Regions from separate parts of the Homo sapiens genome. Here regions 2, 3 and 4 are each linked to region 1. The links are contacts of gene promoters, found by promoter capture Hi-C in human tissues and cell types (Jung and others, 2019). All regions are on one chromosome and are shown on one strand. The core of a region is centred on a gene start or on the middle of the fragment in contact, and the rest is flanking DNA. Distances in the headings are between cores, read along the strand shown. Region 1 holds the start of CACNA1I (calcium voltage-gated channel subunit alpha1 I). Region 2 overlaps TNRC6B (trinucleotide repeat containing adaptor 6B). Region 3 has its middle 3.7 kb from the start of TNRC6B. Region 4 has its middle 54 kb from the start of TNRC6B.

Evidence for each region. Contacts are between HindIII fragments. The study calls those that stand out against the background at their distance.
Region 2: a fragment that was not itself captured here is called in contact with the fragment with the promoter of CACNA1I in region 1 in 2 of the 25 tissues and cell types used here (dorsolateral prefrontal cortex and lymphoblastoid cells).
Region 3: a contact is called between a fragment that was not itself captured here and the fragment with the promoter of CACNA1I in region 1, in 2 of the 25 tissues and cell types used here (dorsolateral prefrontal cortex and lymphoblastoid cells).
Region 4: a fragment that was not itself captured here is called in contact with the fragment with the promoter of CACNA1I in region 1 in 1 of the 25 tissues and cell types used here (adrenal gland).

Annotation. Positions count from the first base shown.
Region 1 is chr22:39,568,290-39,573,883 of GRCh38, forward strand. CACNA1I (calcium voltage-gated channel subunit alpha1 I) reads left to right here and starts at 2,464. Exons shown (of 37, transcript NM_021096.4): 1 at 2,464-2,699. The coding sequence starts at 2,464. The HindIII fragment of the contact is 10,754 bases long and covers 1-4,643 here.
Region 2 is chr22:40,258,818-40,264,411 of GRCh38, forward strand. It overlaps TNRC6B (trinucleotide repeat containing adaptor 6B), which reads left to right. Exons shown (of 23, transcript NM_001162501.2): 4 at 3,015-3,356. LOC124905121 (a long non-coding RNA gene) reads right to left here. Exons shown (of 2, transcript XR_007068107.1): 2 at 225-1,551. Among named protein-coding and RNA genes, the nearest start is that of TNRC6B, 84 kb to the left of the region's middle. The HindIII fragment of the contact is 8,779 bases long and covers 1-5,594 here.
Region 3 is chr22:40,171,472-40,177,065 of GRCh38, forward strand. It overlaps a transcript of TNRC6B not described here. Among named protein-coding and RNA genes, the nearest start is that of TNRC6B, 3.7 kb to the right of the region's middle. The HindIII fragment of the contact is 5,621 bases long and covers 685-5,594 here.
Region 4 is chr22:40,120,860-40,126,453 of GRCh38, forward strand. It overlaps a transcript of TNRC6B not described here. Among named protein-coding and RNA genes, the nearest start is that of TNRC6B, 54 kb to the right of the region's middle. The HindIII fragment of the contact is 5,757 bases long and covers 389-5,594 here.

The DNA.
Region 1 (5,594 bases), core at 1,214-3,713:
CACCAAATCATGGAGATATAAAGACATAAATTATGCACCGTGTTTGATGGTGATAAGAGTTGTGGAAAAGCAGAAAGAGAGAAATTAATTGATCGGTGTGTCTCTCTCCTCTGCGGAAGTGTGGGCTGAATGGGGGCTGGTGCTGAGTCTGGCTCGTGCCCCAGCATAGCCCGAAGCCCACACAGTGCCCACACATAGTAGGTGCTCATTGGGCAAATGAATGAATCAGTAGGGCCTGGGAGAACAGGGCCTGGGCGGAAGGAGAAGGTGCCCCAGTGAGAGGGAAGAGCGGGAGCAGGGCCTAGGACCTGAGGAGGTCCAATCTGGCCAGAGCAAATGGCCAGGGGAGGGAGTGGTGGGCTCCGAGGCTGGCACGGTGGTGGGCAGAGCTGGAACCACCCTAGGGAGGGTGCGTTTCAGCCCAGGAGGTTGACACGTGGCAGGCCAAGGTGCCTGGGAGCTTATGTAAGGCCCGTGGCTGTTTTTCTGGAATCAAGAGCAAAGCCCTGAGCTCAGGAGAAAACTCCGCCTCCCTGACCAGCCAGGGGAAGTGGCAGGAGGTGCCAACCCCTGCCCGTTGCCCCCGGGAGCCAGAGAAATGTCCAAATGCATCAGCTCCGGGTGGCTTGGTCGACAGCCCAGCAGCAGCTGGGTGGGCACCAGGGACGTGGACCCCATCTCTCAATCCCACGGCTCAGACTGGCCCTGTAGGGGTTCTAGGATCCCAGGGACCCCAGTGGACAAAGTTTTAGGGACTAGTACCCTTTGGGGTGAGGTGGTGAGGGGCAGGCCCTGGGAGTGGCTGTCCGTCCCATCTTGCCATTGACTGGTTGCGGAGGCTCTCGGCCAGCGAGGGCACCATCAGTTGTCATGAAGCCCGCCTGGGGGTCTGGTGCTGGGATTCTGGCCTCTCAACACCACCTAGTGCTTCACTTGGCTGGGTGCATAGCCTTGACAACCCGCTTTGTTCTCTTGGCCTCAGTTTCTTCACCTGCCAAATGGGCATAATAGTCCTCCTGAGGTTGTTGTGAGCATCAGACAAGGCCAGGGAGTAGAAGTGCTTTGAGTTGGAGTCGGAGCCAGCAAGATGATTTGCATCACCTAGAACAAAATGAAAATGTGGGACCTCTTGATAAGCAATTAAGAATTTCATGTTGGTGACAGAAGAATTCTAAAGCAAGTTCAGGGCCCTTCTGAGCACGGGGCCCTGTGCAGCTGCCTGAGCCACAGACCCAGGAAGCGGGCTCTGACCGGAATTCTTTTTTTTTTTTTTTTTTGGTGACAGAGTCTTGCTCTGTTGCCCAGGCTGGAATGCAGTGGTGTGATCTTGGCTCACTGCAACCTCCACCTCCCGGGTTCAAGTGATTCTCATGCCTCAGCTTCCCGAGTAGCTGAGATTACAGCGTGTGCCACCACACCCAGCTAATTTTTGTATTTTTAGTACAGATGAGGTCTCACTATGTTGGCCAGGTTGGCCTCAAACTCCTGACCTCAGGTGATCCACCCACCTTGGCCTCCCAAAGTGCTGGGATTACAGGTGTGAGTCACGTGCCTGGCCTTTGACTGGAATTCTATTTCTGCTGTTACTCTGCTACATGTCTGTCCTGTCCCTTCTCTGGGCCTCGGTTTCTTCATCTGTAAGGCAAGGAGGTTAGACTCTAAGATTCCTGGGTTCTCAGCCTTGTAAGGCAGTGGCTGGGAGGTCCCTGGGTCAAGGGCTCAGCTGTAGGTCTCAGCTCAGGGGTTACTTCCTCAGGGAAGCCAACTGTGATTCCCTCCTGGCTTGCCAGCGTTCCCCCAGTCTCTGATTCTGCAGCACCCCAACATTGCCTTTGTAACCTGCATTGTCCTGGCAATAATGTCTGTCTTTACAATCACCTCTTTTTTCTTGCAAGTTTTCTTTACCTTTGATGGTGCAATAAATACATAGCTCTAGTCTTGTAAAAAAGTTAAGATCCCTTCCTTCCTTCCTTCCTTCCTTCCTTCCTTCCTTCCTTTCTTCCCTCCCTCCCTCCCTCTCTCCCTCTCTCCCTCCCTTCCGTCTTTCTTTTCTGTCTATAATTACTTAAACATTTTTTCTCTTAAATAATGAAAGATTTCAAATACAGAAAATTGCCAATAGACAAAAAAAAAAGAGTTAATATCACAATTATATTCTAAGAAGGCTTTATTCTCCCCACTATCTTCGTTTGCCAAAACTGAGGCTCAGCCAGGGTGAGCAGACTTGCCCCATGATCACCCAGCTTGGAAGCAGATTCCAAGTTGGGTGCAGCTGGGCCCTCAGCTGTTTCGTAATCCTCATGCAAGAGTGAGGGTGAGGGGCCTGTGGGGCTCAGGTGGGGCTGTCAGAGCTGCATCCGTCCACTTATTGGTGGAGAGGCAGGTTGGGGAGCATGTACCAGGCCTGTCCCCACCACGTGCCACCCTCTCTGTCTTCCCCAGGGCTCCCAGCTCAGTGTGGACATGGCTGAGAGCGCCTCCCCGCCCTCCTCATCTGCAGCAGCCCCAGCCGCTGAGCCAGGAGTCACCACGGAGCAGCCCGGACCCCGGAGCCCCCCATCCTCCCCGCCAGGCCTGGAGGAGCCTCTGGATGGAGCTGATCCTCATGTCCCACACCCAGACCTGGCGCCTATTGCCTTCTTCTGCCTGCGACAGACCACCAGCCCCCGGAACTGGTGCATCAAGATGGTGTGCAACCCATATCCTCCGCAGCCTCGGCTGATCGGGGCCCTGCAGGGGCTGAAGGGTGGGGGGCTGGATTGAGTCCTGCTGCTCACACCTTGCTCCGGCTGGGAGACCTGAGGTCTGCGGTGAGGCCACTGGGCCTTGGTGGTGGTGAGCGAGCTCAGAGGGTGGGTCTGGGGAGACCTCAAATGGATGAGGACCTGGTGTTCTGCTGATGTGAAGGTTCTGGAAGTTGCTGGTGGCTGTGGGGTCAGTCCAGTGGCTGGCTGGCTCAGAAAGTCCTTGAGTGTGGGCCCCAGACCTGTGCTGGGCTGGGAATGCAGATCAGTCAGACTCTGGAGCCACCTGATGGGCCGTGACCATACAGAGGATGGGAGCCGTGATCAGGAACTGTGGGCGTGGGCAGCGGGGCAGCCGATCCCAACACACAGGGCAGGACTCATTCTCCTTACTGTGCCTCCGAGCAGCCTCTTCCCAGGCCTCCTGCCTCCACTTGCTGCCTCCAGTGGGCTCATGTTCCCCCTGCTTAAGACTGTCATGATTTGCTATGGTCCTGGAGGTGCAGAGCAAAGTCCTAATCCAACCCATCAGGGCCTGTGTGTTCCACCCAGCCTCACTTCCCACCACTTGGCTTCCCCCCTGTGCTCTTCTGAGCCTCAGGGTCCTCTCACTGGCTCTTCCCCCTGTCTGAAAAGCTTTTCCCTTCCCCCTGGACCTGGCCAAATCCTTTGCTACATCCTTAAAATCCCAGCTTAAGCATCACCTCCTCAGGGAAGCCCTCTGGGATTCCTCCTCTGCTTCATATCTAACTGTCACATCTAACTGTGGAATTCTGAATCTAACATTTGCCTCCCCTGGGGTACTGTCAGATGACTGGGATGGGGACCCTAGCACCTGGCACAGTGCTTGGCACATCGTGGGTGCTCTGGCAGTGTTTGCTGGGTGTACATGGGCAATGCCAGAGCTGACTCCTCAATAAGGAAGAGCGTTGGTTGGGTAGAGAGGGTAGTGGGAGGCAGGAGGAGGGCATGGCAGGAGCGAAGCCTGGAGAAGGGAGGAGTTGCAGGCAGTGTTGGAGCCCTGAGGGGCAGAGAGGAGTGAGGTGAGGCTGCAGGTGTGGCGGGAGCCCTGCAGGGCCTTGGAGGCTGCATGAGGGATGGGACTGTGCTCCAAGGGCAGGATTTGAAGCAGGGTCTGGAGAGATCTGTGCTCTGGAAGGACTGTGTGGCACTGGCTTGCAGGGTGAAGTGGGGGCTGGGGACCACTGAGGAGGAGGCTTGGGGACCCAAGCCATGGTGGCCTTGTGGTTTGAGGGTCCCACCAAAAAATGCCCATATGTGGCTCGAGGTTCTGGTGCTTGTGGCCACACAGGGCAGGGTGCGGGGAGCTGGTGGGTCAGGTGCAGGCCTGAGTCCTGCCCTGGAATCCAGGGATGCCAGATGCAGGCTGGGATGTTGAGACTGGCTGCAGGACTGCCAGGCTTCCCTTCTGTAGGGGGCTGAGGTGATCGTGGGCCCTGGATCCCCCTAACTTTTGGAAACCAGCGGGTCTCTGCTGGAGTGGGATGCAGAACTGGGTGTTCCTTGCTGGGTGGGGGCTAAGAGCCTCCCTGCTCCTTCTGGGGGACGGCTCACAGCGTCTCAGGCTTGGTGAGAGGGTCTGCTCGGTAATTAGTTCACCCAGCACTCACTGACATCTGCCCTGGGACACTGAGGACAAAGAGGCAGAGCTGGTGTCTGTCCCAGGGAGTGCCCGGGGAAGAGGGAAGCAGGGACCACCCATTTGGCTAGTTTTTTTTTTTAGATGGAGTCTCGCTCTGTCACCCAGGCTGGAGTGCAGTGGCGCGATCTCGGCTCACTGCAACCTCCGCCTCCCAGGTTCAAGCAATTCTCCTGCCTCAGCCTCCCGAGTAGCTGGGACTACAGGCACCCACCGCCATGCCCTACTAATTTTTGTATTTTTAGTAGAGATGGGGTTTCACCATGTTGGTCAGGCTGGTCTCGAACTCCTGACTCGTGAACCGCCTGCCTCGGCCTCCCAAAGTGCTGGGATTACAGGTGTGAGCCACTGTGCCCAGCCTACGTGGCTAGTTTTAATACAAAGCACTGGGGAAACCTCAGGGGCTTGTGGCATGTGAACAGAGGAGTGCCAGGCCTGAGAAGGGGGCGGCCGCAGGAATTTTGGGCCTTTAGGAAGAGAAAGGCTGGTAGGAGGACCAGGGGGACAATTTCACAATGTCTCAGGGGCCTTTCCTGGGTGAGATGACAAGAGTTGATTCTGGCTCTGTCACTTGGGTGCTGTGTGACCATGAGTAAGTCACTTTGCTTCTTTGAACCTTAGGGGGTCTGGATGGGCAATACTGCTCTGGGCTGGAGGCAGGGGCATGGCTCAGAGGACTTGGCCTGGGAGTCTGACCCAGCTGCGTCTCTGATGGGCTCTGGCTGGGCTGGCTGGGGTGCTGCCCACGTGTCACGGAGAGGCCCCTAGATGGGGGTGGTCAAGTCCTGTCTGCCATGTGTGTGACCCTGGGCAGTCTCCTCTCTCTGAGCCTCAGCACCTCCACCTAAAAAGGAGACGGCAGACGAATCACCCCTTCCAGCCCTGGGAGCCCAGGGTGTTAGCCACACACGCCATGGGGGCTGCCTTGATCTCAGGCACCCTGACGCCTGACCACTGAGTGAGCCAGCCCCTGGGAACCCACCCAGTTTTCCATATTTCTGGCCTGTTGGGCAAACAGAGTCCTTGGGGCCACTGTCTCCTTGGTTTTCACCACCCCTCTCACCTCCATCCTCAGGTCATGTGGGTTGTGGCCTGGGGTTGGAGACAACAGTGGGGCTGGCCCAGGAGGGAGAGGAGTACTGGTTTCGGGAGGAGCTGGGCCTGCCTCTTGTCTGTCTTGGAGAGAGCCC
Region 2 (5,594 bases), core at 1,175-3,674, 690 kb after region 1:
TTCTTCAGTTGAAACAGTGCTGTGAATGTTTTAAAGTGAGTCAAACTGGTGTTCAGCCCTCAGTCCTGCAGGTCACTCTGTCATGTCTTGTTGTTTTTCTGGATTGAGTTAAAAGTATGTAGTAGACCTGGGTAACTTATAATGAAGATTCTTGACCTTTATAGCAGGGCAGCCTTACAGAAACATAGCTCTTTCTGTCCTAAAAACCAGTTGGGATGAATTTCTCCAGTCTCTGCCAACTTCTTGTTTATTCTCATAATAAGATAAAAGGGGATTGCGAATGCCCTGTGCTATAGAATCCTCCAGTAACAGATAGAAAATTAATATTAAATAATCTTCATTCATTCATTTACCAGTTATGTATCCATCTGTTGTTATAGGTCATGAATATTAGATAATGACTAATTTTCTTTTCTTTTTTTTTTGAGACAGAGTCTTGCTCTGTGGCCCAGGCTGGAGGGCAGTGGCACGATCTCGGCTCACTGCAACCCCCGCTTCCCAGGTTCAAGCAATTCTCGTCCTCAGCCTCCTGAGTAGCTGGGAATACAGGCGCATGCCACCACGCCCAGCTAATTTTTGTATTTTTAGTAGAGACTAGGTTTCACAATGTCGGCCAGGATGGTCTCGATCTCCTGACCCTGTGATCTACCCACCTCGGCCTCCCAAAGTGCTGGGATTACAGGCGTGAGCCATCGCGCCTGGCCGACTAATTTTATTTTCTTAAGTCACACATTTATTCTGCTCATCAGATTTTGGATCCTCTGACCTCCACTCCCCCTCCCCTTACTGGGAGGCCTGGTGCTGCCTTGTGATTAGCTGAGGTTAGACATGGGGTTACCTGGAAATTGCTGCAGGCACCTGCTCTTTTCTCCTGTCACCCACAGTATGTTAATGTCCAGTAGTGGCATAGATTGGGCCGCCTGATTTCTGATGATGTATCTCTCTCATAAAGGAGCCAGTTCAGCAAGCAACATGCTGGCCCCGCATCATTTTAGCAGTCAAAGCAGTACTACCCCCAGAGTTGGCCCTGACGTTACCCTGGGAGGCAGGGATTTGGGCCTCAGAATCATCCGAACTGTCAGGCTTGATGATTATTTCTGTACGACTTCCAGCCTCTATTTGCCAGGTAGATTTTTATGGAGAGGGTAGTGATCTTCTGGCAGCATGCAGCGAGGGAGGTACAGATCTAAGAGAGCCTTCTCTGTATGTTCGACGGGAAGAGCCAGAGGGTCCGGCAGAGTGCGGTTTCACGGTTGCCCCGACATTCCCACGCTGTGTGCGGGCCATTTTTAAAATTAAGTTTAAAAAAATCAAATGATTTAAAGTAAACAGAAAAAGTATTTACATTTTGAAATTTCTATTTTAAAGAATTGGGAAGAAACACTTTTTTTTTTTTTTAAAGAAAAGCAAAAAGATTTGTAACATTTCTAGTATTTACACAGAGAGCGGTGCAAGTCTTTGAGTCCAGGTAGCTGTAGAAACCAGAACCAAGCTGAGTTTGTGATTTTCTAGGCCTGGAGTTTCTTGTAAGAGTCCACTCTGTGCCATGCCCTAAGGAAGAAAGAAAAGATGAAAGATGGGTCCTTGCCCTCAGGAAGTCATGGCCTGGTGAGGGAGAAGGACTTGTAAATGGAGAATTTCTGTGATAGAGAGAGATGGGACTTGTAGATGGAGAATTTCGGTGGTAGAGATAGATGGATTTTTGAATGGAGAATTTTCATGGTAGAGAGAGATGGATGATGTGTTCCAGGAGCACTTAGGAAGAATGTTTAGCCCATCTAGGCCAGGGGCTTCAATAAAGTTTACTCAGGGGTAGATCTTTTAAGAATGTGGATGAAGGGAAGGGACCCTTGGACTGAGGCTTGAAACCTTTCCCAAGGACTTTGCCATGGACATTTAACTCTTCTAGGCAGCACTTCAGGGAATTAATTCCACTGTTGATTTAGGGGAGTGAATGTTGATTGCTTCCCTCTCCGCCTTAATTAATGGAATGTATTCCATGACCTTGCTGTGTTTAAATTCTTGTCACTGTCAGCCGCCACCTTCATCCTACCTTCAGCAAACTGGAGAGATTGTGGAGAATTTGGAAAAACTGTTTCCCTTGAGAGTAGAGTAAAAGGAGAAGTTACTTTGTTAGAATTGGTACCATGTAAGCTTTCTTACAAATAATCTTAGCCAGGGTCTGGGTGTGGTGGCTCACACCTGTAATCCCAGCACTTTGGGAGGCCGAGGTGGGTAAATAGCTTGAGTTCAGGAGTTCGAGACCAGTCTAGGTAGGCAACATGGCAAAACCCTGTCTCTAGAGGAGGAAAAAAAAATTAGTTGGGCATAGTGGTGTATGCATTGTAGTCCCAGCTACTCAAGAGGCTGAGGTGGGAGGATCACTTGAGCCCTGGAGGTAGAAGTTGCAGCAAGCCAAGATCACTGCACTCCAGCCCGAGTTATACAGCAAGACCTCATCTCAAAAAAATAAAAAATAGGCTGGGTGCAGTGGCTCATGCCTGTAATCTCAACACTTTGGGAGGCCAAGGCAGGCGGATCATGAGGTCAGGAGTTCAAGACCAGCCTGGTCAACATAGTGAAAACCTGTCTGTACTAAAAATACAAAAAATTAGCTGGTTTTGGTGGTGGGCGCCTGTAATCCGAGCTACTTGGGAGGCTGAGGCAGGAGAATTGCTTGAACCTGGGAGGCGGAGGTTGCAGTGAGCGGAGATTGCACCACTGCACTCCAGCCTGGGCGACACTCACACTGGGTGACAGTGTGAGACTCCGTCTCAAAAATAAATAAATAAATAAATAAATAATAATCTTGGCCAGGCACAGTGGCTCACTCTTGTAATTCTAGCACTTTGGAAAGCCAAGGTGGGAGAGTCCCTTGAGCCCGAGTTCAAGACCAGCATGGGCAACATGGCAAGACCCCATCTCTAAATAAAATAATAAAATTATTTTTAAAATTTTTAGAAAAAATGTATTTGATGTATTTCAAAGACTGTTTCCCAACCCCTCTCTTTTAGTGCCCGAAGTGACGAAACCAAGTTTAAGCCAACCAACGGCCGCCAGCCCAATTGGCAGCTCTCCATCGCCACCAGTCAATGGTGGCAACAATGCCAAAAGGGTGGCAGTGCCGAACGGACAACCGCCAAGCGCCGCCCGCTACATGCCTCGGGAGGTGCCGCCGCGATTCCGTTGCCAGCAGGACCACAAAGTGTTACTAAAACGTGGGCAGCCCCCTCCACCGTCCTGCATGCTCCTTGGGGGTGGGGCAGGGCCTCCTCCCTGCACAGCACCTGGAGCAAACCCAAACAACGCACAAGTGACAGGAGCGCTGCTGCAGAGTGAGAGTGGGACTGCGCCAGGTAAGGCACCCTGTGAATCGAATGCATGGCAGCTTGACAGAGAGAGAGCACTTTGTTTGCATTGCTTGATGTAAAGTCCAGGAAAGCCATTCATTATATAAACCACTGGGATTAGTCAAAAGATGAGAGAGGATCCTAGTATGCGATGTGTATTGGTGATTCTTGGAACTGAGGTTTAGTGTTCCGTAAGTGTGTGCTCTTGGCATAAGGGCTAACTTAACTGCTGTTGCTTATTATTTTGGGGGCCTTTTTTCCTTCTCAGACTAGAGTGTTACAAATTTGAGCCTCCATAGTTCCACCGTCATATGTGTTCAGGGCATAATTGGACATGGGGCTTGTGCGAAGGCGAATCTTTAGATGCCTGTGTTATGTTTCCAGAATGCTAGGAGGATAGAGAAAATGATTTGCTACATTGCAATATAGAATCTTCGGAGGATTCTAAAATAATACTATAGTTTTTAAATTAGATTTTTAAACTCAGTATTTCTTTTTGTGGGCCCTGGATTTTGAGCTTTGTTAAAAACTGTATGTAGAAATAAGGGATATTTAGCTGAAAGGTTCTACTAGAAGTTTTGAGAGTTTTTGGCCGGGCACGGTGGCTCACGCCTGTAATCCCAGCACTTTGGGAGGCCGAGGCGGGTGGATCACCAGGTCAGGAGATCGAGACCACCCTGGCTAACATGGTGAAACCCTGTCTCTACTAAAAATATAAAAAAATTAGCCAGGCATGGTGGCGGGCTCCTGTAGTCCCAGCTACTCGGGAGGCTGAGGCAGGAGAATGGCGTCAACCCAGGAGGCGGAGCTTGCAGTGAGCCGAGGTCGCGCCATTGCACTCCAGCCTGGGTGACAGAGCCAGACTCCGTCTTAAAAAAAAAAAAAAAAAAGTTGTGAGAGTTTTTAATAGATGAATACTAAGTCAACTAACAGCTAAGAAATTCTAAATATCTTTTAAAGTTTATTAACAGATTTCAACTTAAAATGTCTTTTGGGGTGATATTAAAATTCAGAGCTTGAATACCATTAGGCATTGGCAAAGATAATGAATTGATGGTTGTCACCAGTAGGATGCTTTATTTGAGTTCTGAGTTTAAACAAATAATTGCCTAGAAAATTTGGTCACCATCTTGCTGTGTGCAGAGTAAGGATGGAAAGAAACCTCGTGGTGACACAGACTTCCTGCAGAGATAAGCCCTACCCATGGCCTTTCCTTCCTGGCTCTCCAAACCAGCTGCAAAAGGAAGCATGTGAAGGGGCAGGCCCTGTCAGGCGGAGTTTCTGCAGCCGAGTGTAGCCAGGCCTAGGTGGAGACTGGGGTCCAGTGTGAGTCAGAGTCCACATTATTAAAACGGAGGAGGCCCCTAAATCTCGAGTTTCGGTTTCTATGCTTTTTATTTTTCTATGCCTCCGTATAATACTTTTTGAAACTTCAAATTGATTAAAAGCTGCCTGGTTAAAGAAGCCAAAATAAATTTAGAAGAAATGATCTCATTAAAAACATGTTTTTCCCACCAAATATGGTAAATTCCACCAAAATATATGGTGAGCCAGACTCATTTAACAGATTAAGTTCCTTGGGGTTGTGAACTCTGCCTAATTCATACTCATGTGACACCCCTGCCACCCTGGGCACCTAGCTCAGTGGCTCAGTGGGTATTCATCATTCAGCAGATGCTTACTCCGCAGCATTGTGCTGGCTGCTGTGTGGAATTCTAACGTTAGCAAGTTAGGGTCTCTGCCTAAAAGACGCTAACATGGGGAAGGAAAGTTGTGAACATGGTGCCACAGCACTGAGCAAAATGGCTCTAGACAGGGAAAGATTATTTTCAGGTGATGAGCTTGAAAACAGCTTCGCAGATGAAATGACACTTGAATTGGGCCCAGAAGGATGAGTAAATTTCACTGTGTGAATTCAGCAGGAAAACACAGTAGGTGCCAACGTGAAATGGTGCCAGAGTGAGAAGGCACAAGTTGTGGAATGTCAAGTAGTATCGAATATTGACATCTACATAGGAGGTAGTAGAAGATAAGACTAGAAAAGTTGGTTGGTCCCAGGTCATGGAACATCTTGATGACATTCGAGGCCAAGGAGTTCAGCTTTATTCTTGTGCACTAAGGAACTGTTGAAGGTTCTCCATACAGCAGTGATATAATCAAAAGTGTGCTTTAGAAAGATTGCTCCAGCCAGGGGTGTTTAGAGTAGGTTGAAGATACAGAGCAAGTTTAGAGTGCCATTGCTAT
Region 3 (5,594 bases), core at 2,245-4,744, 600 kb after region 1:
ATTTAACAATGAATGGGACTGCTGAGTGGTTATAAAGGACATTTAAGCATTTATTAATTTTTGTGGTCAAAATTTTTTGTTTGTATTTTGAACTTGTATTTTTTTTTAGATCCCAAACATTTTTCTAAGTCTCTGAAAAGCTTATGGACCCTAGGCATTCAGTGGAAAGCAACTAATGGATAAAATGGCGCTGTTTTCTTTTCCTGCTGAAAACTCTTTTGTGACTTTCCACTATTCCAAAAGTGAAATATTTACTGTGGACTGAAGAACTTAGTATGATCTAGCTCTTCCTACCTCTTGAGATTCATTTCATGCCTCTATCCCCTGCTCCCAGGTCCTAGCCTCCTGATCATTTCTCTTGTTTATTGACCACTCAAACATTTGCTTTTCTTTCTCTTTTCTTTTTTTTGATGGAGTACCTCTCTGTTGCCCAGGCTGGAGTGCAGTAGCACCATTTCAGCTCACTGCAGCCTCCGCCTCCTGGGTTCAGGTGATTCTCGCACCTCAGCCTTCCAAGTAGCTGGGATTACAGGCACACCACCATGCCCAGCTAATTTTTTTTTAATTTTTATTTTTTTGGTATTTTTAGTAGAGATGGGGGTTTCACCATGTTGGCCAGGCTGGCCTCGAACTCCTGACCTCAAGAGATCCGCCTGCCTTAGCCTCCCAAAGTTCTGGGATTACAGGCATGAGCCACCATGCCCGGCCTAAACATCTGCTTTTCAACTCAGCTTAAATGTTGCTCCTGAGAAAAGCCTTCCCTGTGCACCTTATCTAAAGTGAGCCTCTCTCAGTTATTCTATATCCTGTCAAACTGCTTATTCCCTTCTCAGTGAGTTCCTTCTCCTATGAGGATGTCAGCTCCATATAGACGAGAACCTTCTGCTTCACTGCTGCATCCCTAGCACTTAGCACAGAGTCTGATAGGGAAAGTACTTAGTACATATTTATTGAACAAATGAAGATTAATGTTAGTAGCTAGTTTAACTGTCCCTGTATCGTTGTAATTTAACCATCCTTGTATTGTTGGTGTAGTGTTGTTGGTGTAAAGCCTATGTGGTCATAATGAATTATTCTCTTAAAACTACTCAGTTCTGTCTGATAATATTTTACTTAGTATTTTTGCATCTGTCTTCACAAGTGAACATTAGTTTAGTTTTATTTTTTGTACCATCTTAGTCTAAATTCATATCAAGAATATGTTATCCTCATGGAAGAAAGTAGGAAGCTTTTCCTTTTATCCTTACACCTCCTGGAACAGTAAGGATAACGTGGAAATTATCTGTTCAATAAGAGTTAGATAGCATTCACCTAGAAAATTGGGCTTGCTGTTGTCTTAGTGGCTCATTCTTTGAAGATCTTAGAGATTTCTGCTCTGGGTTGTTGTTCCCCTAATTTTTCTTGAGTTGATTTTGGTAACTTCTGTTTTCTTTGACTATCATCCATCTTATTTAATCTTCAAGTTTATTTATGTAAAGTTACATATAATTCTAGCATGAGTTAAAAGATTTTCTCTAAATCTGCAGTTATGATATCCTCTTTCTCAGCCCTAATGTTTGTGACTTCTCTCTTTCAATTGATCAGATTTTTGACAGAATTATCTACATTTATTTAGTGTTTTAAAACAAAATATAGTTTTTGGTTTTGTTTTTTGGTTTTTTTTTGAGATGGAGTCTCGCTCTACTGGTGATCTCCGCTCACTGCAACCTCCACCTCGCGGATTCAAGCAATTCTCCTGCCTCAGGTTCCCGAGTAGCTGGGACTACAGGTGCGTGCCACCACGCCCGGCTAATTTTTGTATTTGTAGTAGAGACGGGGTTTCACCATGTTGACCAGGATGGTCTTGATCACTTGACCTCGTGATCCACCCTCGGCCTCCCAAAGTACTGGAATTACAGGTGTGAGCCATCACGCCTGGCCTAGTTTTTGTTTTTATTAATTCAGTTTACTCTTTTTTTTTTTTTTTGGCTGTTACTTTATATCTGTGCCAAAAACAACAAAACAGATATATATATAATCTGTCACCAAGGCTGGAGTACAGTGGCGTGATCTCAGCTCAGCCTCCGGAGTAGCTAGGACCACAGGCATACCCCACCAAGCCTGGCTGACTTTTTTTATTTTTTTGTAGAGGCGAGATCTCACTATGTTTGTTGCCCAGTCTCAAACTCTTGGGCTCAAGTAAACCTCTAACTTTGGCCTCCCAAAGTGCTGGGATTACAGGCATGAGTCAACACCATGGCCAGCCTTGCTTTTATATTTATTCATTTTTGGGGTTTATTAACTCTTTTTCTAGATTTTTGAACATATATATATATATATATATTTTTTTTTTTTTTTTTTTTTTTTTTTTGAGACAGAATCTCATTCTGTTGTCCAGGCTGGGGTGCAGTGGCATGATCTTAGCTCACTGCAACCACCATCTCCCAGGTTCAAGTAATTGTCCTGCCTTAGCCTCCCAAGTAGCTGGGATTACCAGCAGGTACCACCATGCCCAGCTAAATTTTGTATTTTGAGTTGGGTTTTCACCATGTTGGCCAGGCTGGTCTTGAACTCCTGACCTCAGGTGATCTGCCTGGCTCAGTCTCCCAGAGTGCTGTGATTACAGGCGTGAGCCACCACGCCCAGCCTTTTTCTAGATTTTTGAGTTAAATACTCAGTTCAGTTATTTTTCAATCTTGTTTTCTTCTTTTTCTTTTTCTTTTTTTTTTTAGAGACAGAGTTTTGCTCTATTGCCCCAGCTGGAGGGTAGTGGCACGACCTTGCTCACTGCAGCTCACTGCAACCTGCAGCCTCCACCTTCTGGCTTCAAGTGATTCTTGAGCCTCAGCCTGCTGAGTAGTTGGGACTACAGGCGTGTGCCACCATGCCCAGCTAATTTTTGTTATTTTTAGTAGAAACGGGATTTTGCCATGTTGGCCAAGCTGGTCTCGAACTCCTGGCCTCAAGTGATCCACCCACCTCGGCGTCCCAAAGTGCTGGGATTACAGGTATAAGCCACCATGCCTGGCCAATCATGTTTTCTGATAAAAATATTTTGAGGAATGGTATGTAACCTCCAAAGGTGCCAGCTTTGAAAGATAACAGTCATTTGAATGTTCTTGTTTTTAGTTTTAGAAAATAATTTTTATGGCTGAGGCCGGCAGATCACGAGGTGATCACGAGGTGATTTAGTGAAACCCCGTCTCTACTACAAATACAAAAAAATTAGCCGAGCGTGGTGGCAGGCACCTATAGTCCCAGCTATTCGGGAGGCTGAGGCAGGAGAATGGCGTGAACCCGGGAGGCGGAGCTTGCAGTAAGCCGAGATAGCACCACTGCACTCTAGCCTGGGCGACAAAGCGAGACTCCATCTCAAAAAAAAAAAAAAAAATTTATTTCTTTGTGTCCTTACCTTACAATAATATAATTTTAAAATATTGTCTAATTGTTAATATGAAAAAAGTATAATAAATCTATCACAGAATCTATTATGTCTGGAAACACAAGGGAGAAATAATGTATTTATTGCACTTGTTTGTTTTAGATAAACGATTAGACTAATTGTATTAAATTTAGAGGTATTGCATAGAAAAGATGATGTGGAGGTTAAGGAAAAAATATTCAGTGGCCGGGCGCAGTGCCTCATGCCTGTAATCTCAGCACTTTGGGAGGCTGACGTGGGCAGATCACGAGGTCAGGAGTTCGAGACCAGCCTGGCCAACATGGTGAAACCCTGTCTCTATTAAAAATACAAAAATTATCTGGGCATGGTGGCATGTGTCTGTAATCCCAGCTACTCAGGAGGCTGAGACAGGAGAATCGCTTGAACCCAGGAGGTGGAGGTTCCTGTGAGCCGATACCATGCCACTGCACTCCAGCCTGGGTGACAGAGCAAGACTCTGTCTCAAAATATATATATATATGTTTTCAGCATATTATTTGAAATTAGAACCAATATTTTATTTAAAATATGTTTGTTCTGTTTCCAAACTTTTCATGCAGTTTGCTATTTAACACTTACAAGGCAACACATATAAATATTTGTATACAATAATATTCTACACTGGGGAATGGAGACTTAGCAAAGTTCAGTTTCATAAAGAAAGCATGTCCATCACAAATTAAAACAAGGTGGATGTTCAGTCTCCACACATTTTTACAAATCGAGCCAGCTACAAGCAAGTAGGCTTTCAGTAACTCATCTGGAAGGTATTGGAAGGATAAAAATAGACTAAATAATCAGAATTTCCATTCTAGTAGTTTCCTGCTTTTTCCTGCATCTCAATTGTCAGTGCAGGGCCTGGCTATTTCACTCAGTGCTAGGCAAAGACAGTGGAAGCTTGTTAAGCCACAGCTATTCAGGCTACCAGATTGTCCAGGCATTGGCCTTTGCCTGCCATGAAACAGCTCCTTTCCTGTCGTCATATCTGAGTGGAAAGAGCAAAGGCGGGAGACTGTATAAAGACCCAGAAGCCAGGATGACAACAAGTGTTGTGGGATTTTACAAGCATTCGTAGGTTCCTTTTCAAGGAAAGCCGGGTTTCTAGAATCCATCAGTTGTCTGCTGGCTGGCATGGCAGCCTAGTTTATGGGAGAAGCACACTAGGGAATCCTCCCTTTTCTGGCTTATAGAGATAGGTGGAGTCGATAGTCACAGGGCATTCTCATGCACTTTTTTTTTTTTTTTTTTTGAGATGGAGTTTCACTCTTGCTGCCCAGTCTGGAGTGCAATGGCGCGATCTCGGCTCACCACAACCTCCGCCTCCCGGGTTCAAGCGATTCTCCTGCTAAGCTCAGCCTCCCTAGTAGCTGGGATTACAGGCATGTGCCACCACGCTGGCTAATTTTGTATTTTTAGTAGAGACGGGGTTTCTCCATGCTGGTCAGGCTGGTCTCGAACTCCCGACCTCAGGTGATCTGCCTGCCTCGGCCTCCCAAAGTGCTGGGATTACAGGTATGAGCCACCGCACCCGGCCTCATGCGCTTTTTACCATTTTAGTTACTTTCTTTCCTGAAGCCGTCCTTAAAACATAGATGAATGCGAGTTTCTGGGAACTATGTGACCCTCATTCCCCTACATTTTTTATATTCAGGTGGCAGATTTCCTCCTACTCAGCCCAGCCCTTCTGAATAGGGTCCAAGTCATTGATTTATTCATTTATTTACCTCCTATGTGGTGTTTGGTGTGGAGCCTCACAGAGCAGTGAAGACGTGGTGTTTTTCCTTATACAGTTTACAGTCTCCTGGGGAAGACTAATGTTAAGCACATTCTTTCATAAATTGCAATTATGACCATTGCTCTGAAGAAGTAGTAAAGGATATTATGGGAGTGTTAACAGGAGGGCCTGGTCTGGACTGCGAGGGTCAAGAAGCCTTCCCAGGGTGGAGGCGAACTTTTGAGATGGCCAGGAAAAGATGAACAGAACTACTCAAAGAAGCCAAGTGCAGAGTTTCAGAGGTGAAAGAAACCAAAGATACCATCTAGGGAAGCCCAATCTCCGCCGGCTACCAATGAGAAAACGGAGGCCAGGCAGGGTGGGAGGATGGGTAAGGGACTTACTTACTTGCTGTTAGCAGTGAAGTTACACGGCCTGTGAGCCGCGGGGGCTGGAGAT
Region 4 (5,594 bases), core at 2,017-4,516, 550 kb after region 1:
CCACCACCACTAGTCTGGGATAGACCTGCCTTCTCGCCTGCCTCCTAGCCAACGAAAGGAGCAGAGCAGAACAGGTGTCCCCAAGGGAAAAGGGAGAGAAAAGGGCTGGACTATGCAAGCCTGGTTTCTTCTTCCAAACACACTCATCAGAGAAGTGACTTCACCCCTGACAGCCTGAGTCAGGGATACAAGGCCAGGAATATGAAAAATTGGATATTGTCCCATGTGGAAGGAAGCATCAGGAGCAGGGAAAAAAGTTTTCCTCCCCTAGCATTCCCTAGCTTTTGTTTCTTAGTACATTGTTCTTAACCAGTAAGTCTAGGTCAGCCAGGGTTATGCCAGTCTTCCTTCCTCCTTTCCCTCCTCCCTCCCTCCCTCCCTTCCGTCCTTCCTTCCTTCCTTGTATAGCCAGAAACCTCTTAATTTTCATTTTCCTTTTGAATCACCTATATAAACCTAGCACAAGCAATTTAAAGGAAAAACTTCACTGGTTTTGTAATGCATGTGTGCTATTTGAAATTCAGCTGCTTTGCAGCTTATATGCAGCGAGTAATTGTTCCACTTTCTGATGTCTAAAAGGCCTGTAGGAAGAAAGTCTGTTTTCCCTGAAGTCTAATCTTTCCTCAGCCATGCCTGCTTAGGAAAAGCTGTGCCGGCATAATTCAAGGTCAAGCAGCAGCCTTCTGTACACTGAAGCCACCCAAGCCCACTAATGCCCTATTCCCTTTGCTGAGGCCAGCACAGCTGGCATTTGCTTGCTAGGCCAGAGCAGCCAGTGTATGCTGAGACTGCCTGCACAGCTGATATGTAAATGAGCTTTCAATACCAGCATCACCACCACCGCCACAACCGTCTGTGGCTTGTTTCTTGATGAGGCCTGCAAAGCCCCCAACCCTTTGCTAAGGCTTATGTGCCTAGTGTACGCAGCCTTGTCTCTATAGAAACAGCCACTTACGTGAAGACAAAGTTGCCATAACTACAGTCGCTGCTAAGGTCAAAATACTGTGTGCCTATGGTTTATAAACCTCTAATTCAGCCTCAATAGTTACAAGCTAGTGTATAACTATAAAAACAACAGTAAAAAGCCTAATATAAGCTTCTACAAGAAAATACTGTGCCCCCTCATTAAAGTCCAAGGCCCAAAGTCCTGGCCTTAACAGAAGCCTCAAAAATGCCACATGTATTTTACTCCCTTGAATTTTAGTTCTTGTCTATTTATCAAAATTTTGGTGCCACGCACCAGAAGTTAGGGTCTTTGAGACCCAATAAATAGCACTCTCCTTCCCTTGACTGGGCTCTCTATATTTTGGTCTCCCAAATGTCCTCCTTTTTAAAAGCTTATATGCAGCGAGAAATTGTTACACTTTTCATTTTTCCCTCCTTTTTAAAAGGAGGGCATTTGGGAGACCAAAATACTGTTTCTCTGACTAATAAAGCGGTATTGGACCGCCCATTCCCGCTGCCACTGCTATTATGTGTGCCACTGGGCAGAGGGGCCGGGCTTAAAAAAAAAAGCTGTATTGGAGAATGTGACACATCTACAGGCCAGTGAACTTAACACTGAACTTCATAATAACACAGACTGACCTACTCACGGGTAGTTGTGAGGGTCCTGTGTTTATGGGTGGAGGAGAAGAGGAGAATGCAGGCTTCCTGGGGCAGCTGGTTTCCAGAAGGAAGGAAAAGACAGGGCTGAGCTCCACCTACGTTGTTTCTCCTTCCAAACTCACCATTAAAGTAAGATCCTGTTACCTTCTCTGGAGTGGATTGTGTGCAGGTGGAGAGGAGCCAAAGGTGGAAACTCAGGAGCCAGGAAGAAGCATTCCCCTTTCACAGCATGTCCAAAGGGAAATGGAGATCACTGGGGATCGGACCCTGAAAGAATAAGAATTCAGAGTAGAGAATGTCTTGTGAGTTGGTCATCTCCATGTACTTATTAAGTACCTATTATGTATCAAGTGCAAATACATTGTCAGTGAATCCTCAGAATAACTACTATTCCCAAGTTTTGGTAGGGAAGCTGAGACTGAGACAAATTGAGTAAATTCCCTCAAGGTCACACATCCGTAAGCATTCGGGTCTGTTGGACTCTTCAGTGACGGCCACAGCTCCCCCTCCAGGTTCCAGTCACTGCCCCTTCCGCTTCAGGTCTAGCAATAGTAAGGTTCCCAATTGTTGTCAGCCACTGGGTGGTTCAGTAGCCTTTGTTGGTTTCCCTATTTCCATTCTAACATGTTGGAAAACTGAGGGCTGTAGTAGTAGAGAAGGTAAGACTTGGGCCTTGGTAGGATCTTATTGGGACACGATGGATTTTAAGAAGTGAGTGGAGGGGCAGAAGTCTTGGTTAAAGCCTTGGGTAGAGGGTGATAGCATGGGGGAGGAGAGATGACAGTGTGCAGTGTTGGGGGATAGGGAGGAGGAGTCGGTAACGGGAAATAGCAGTGATTGTCAGAGAAGGAAAAAACTAATTTAGCCAGGCAAGTCAAGCTAGAAAGAGACTTAAGAAAAATAGAACAGCCAAATAGGAGAATCCAGAAAGGATGAAAGTAAAAAGATTAAAGCTGAAGGAGAAGCCAGCAAGTTGAGAGCAGTGCCCTTTCATAGAAGAAACAACCACTGCCATCCCTTCTTCCTCTCCCGACCTCCTGTCTCCAGTCAGTGCCTCCCACTGGCTTAGCCCAGCCAGCAGCCAGAAGATAAGGAGCCCAATGATGGTGTCCCCTGGGGCACACAGTTAGGCGGAGAATGGAGCGTGGGTCTGGAGGAAGCAGACAGTACAGCACCAGACCAAGGAGTGTGCTGAGCACAGGCCTGCAAGCATGAATGGAGTTCCAAGGAGTTTTTCTGGTTCAGCTATGCCTATAATGCATCATCTGGTTCAGCTATGCCTATAATGAAACAGAGAAATGCAGTCTCTGTTTCAGTGAAGTAGGAGAACTTAAAGACATCTGTGAAGCAAATTACACATAAAATCTTTCTGGATAAGTTATTGAGTTTTTCCAATGCTATCAACCTAATTTTTATAGAAAGAGAACTTTTTTTTTTTTTTTTTGCACAACTGTGATAAATAGGTGAGGGACAAAATCAACTAGAGAAAGCCTATTTTCACTTGCTGTGAGCATCCCTCATGTGTTTTACAGAGAGGATGGGCAATGTTGATTAAGCTGGGAGCAAGTGAATGGATATCAATTGAGAGCTTCTACTGTACTGATTTTACACTTCACATCACATAAATATGCATTTGTTCCCAACAAGACCTTGCTAGGTGGGTGAGCAAAGTAGATATTTTGGTAACCCCTTCCCACCCAGTAGATGAGGCAACAGCTTCCTGGAAGTGCCTTCTTAGCCTTGAGTCTTGGCTGGTTATAGAGAAGCCTACACCAAAACAGATCATCAAGCGTTGTGCATTAATAGATTTTTCTTGCACACACAAAAAACATACACTACCAGCATCTTTTTACCTTTTTTTTTTTTTTTTTTTGAGACAGGGTCTCACTCTGTTGCCAAGGCTGGAGTGCAGTGGTGTGATCACAGCTCACTGCAGCCTTGACCTCCTGGACTCAACCAGTCCTCCCACCTCAGCCTCTCAAGTAGCTGGGCCCACATACATGTGTCACCACGCCTGGCTAATTTTTGTATTTTGGGTAGAGGTGGGGTTTCGCCCCCAGGCTGGTCTTGAACGCGTTAGCTCAAGCCATCCACCTGCCTCAGCCTCCCAAATTGCTGGGATTATAGGCATGAGCCACTGCACCTGGCCTTTTTTAGTTTTTATGTTTTGTAGCTATGAGCTTTAGAGTAGCTGATAGGTTTGTAAATATTCATACCTGTATTATAATGGAGATTTGTGTCATTTGAATAATTATTCCTCAATAGGGCCAGGAGCGGTGGCTCACGCCTGTAATCCCAGCACTTTGGGAGTCTGAGGCGGTCGGATCACGAGGTCAGGAGTTCAAGACCAGTCTATCCAACATAGTGAAACCCTGTCTCTACTAAAAATACAAAAATCGGCCGGGTGTGGTGGCAGGCGCCTGTAGTCCCAGCTACTTGGGAGACTGAGGCAGGAGCATCGCTTGAACCCAGGAGGTGGAGGTTGCAGTGAGCCAAACTCTCACCACTGCACTGCAGCCTGGGCGACACAGCAAGACTGTGTCTCAAAAAAAAAAAAAATATTCCTCAATAATTACATATGTAATGAATTCTTGAAAATGTTGCATAAATTTTTAGTAGTTTCCTTTTGGTACATTTTAATTCATAAAATTTTAACAAACTTTTTCTTGACTCATTTTATTCTTTGAGGAAAACTTAATTACTTTTTACTGTCTTGCCCTATAAATAGTCTCATATAAAAATAAATGAACTGACATTTAGTTTATTAAGCACATTTCCTAAAAATGAAAAGTGGGGCCAGCCATTATAGTGTACTTTAATTTCAGTTATAAAGAAAGCAGGAACGTTATTCATAAATTATAAGCCCGGGAAACCCTGCCAATTCCAATAGCCTTAGCCTAATACCCAGGCACTGTGACCTGCAGGGGCGGAACAACAGGTGCGCCGCTTTGCTCACTGCCATACTTTCTTGCAGGTCAGTGTCTGCTGTAAGAATTTCACCACCACCTCTGCCAAAAGCCAAATAAAATAGGGAAAGAAATCTAGAGCTATTAATATCCCAATGCTGGAAACCTTTCCTATCTACCCTTCTCCCCCAAGATGGGAAACATTCCCTCCCTGCTTCTCTCCCTCCCTTTCTTACCTTTAAGATGCATGTGCATAGACACACACACACACACAAAGTTACTCAAAGTTACTTCACAGTATCTGTGGCCTTATTGAGAGAATTTCAGTCTAAACCTTTGAAAAAAAAATTTTTTTGCCCTGAATTCCTTACATACTTTTTTCTTCTCTCTTCTTTTAGGCAGTATTTTTGTGTTTCTGCAGAGTTTTGCACAAAATCTGTTCCCATGCAAACCAATGAGGGAGAAGTATCGGAAGAAAGCAGTTCCAAGGTCAGTAAATTACTGAAAGGTACAGTTTGGGTAGAAATTGAACAGTAGAGGCTGTGGATGAGTAGAATGGGTATTTCATTTTACATGACTGTAAAAATTCGATTGAGTTAAATTAGAACCTAACATAAGATTGAGAAATATTTTTTCTTTTCAGTATACTTTTTAATCCTATATGCTAATTTAAAACAATTTTACTGAACTACAGAGAACTTTATAATTTATTTTTAGAACACTAATACTATGTCTTTTAAAGTTTGTTACGAAAGTTACTATAGGCTTATAAAAAATCAGAAGTATATAAAGTCAGGAGTCAAAGCTGGTCCCCTGTTCCTGCTGCACAGAGGCAGTCACTGATAATTTTTAGGTGTTTTTCTATTACAAATTTTATTTTATTTTATTTTAGATTTAGAGGTACACGTGCAGGTTTGTTGCATGAGTATGTTGTGTGATGCTGAGGCTTGGGGTACAAGTGATTCCATCACTCAGGTAGTGAGCATAGTACCCAAGAGCTTGTCTTTGAACCCTTGTTCCCTTCCCTCCCTCTCCCTTTTGGAGTCCCCAGTGTCCACCGTTTCCATCTTTATGTCCACA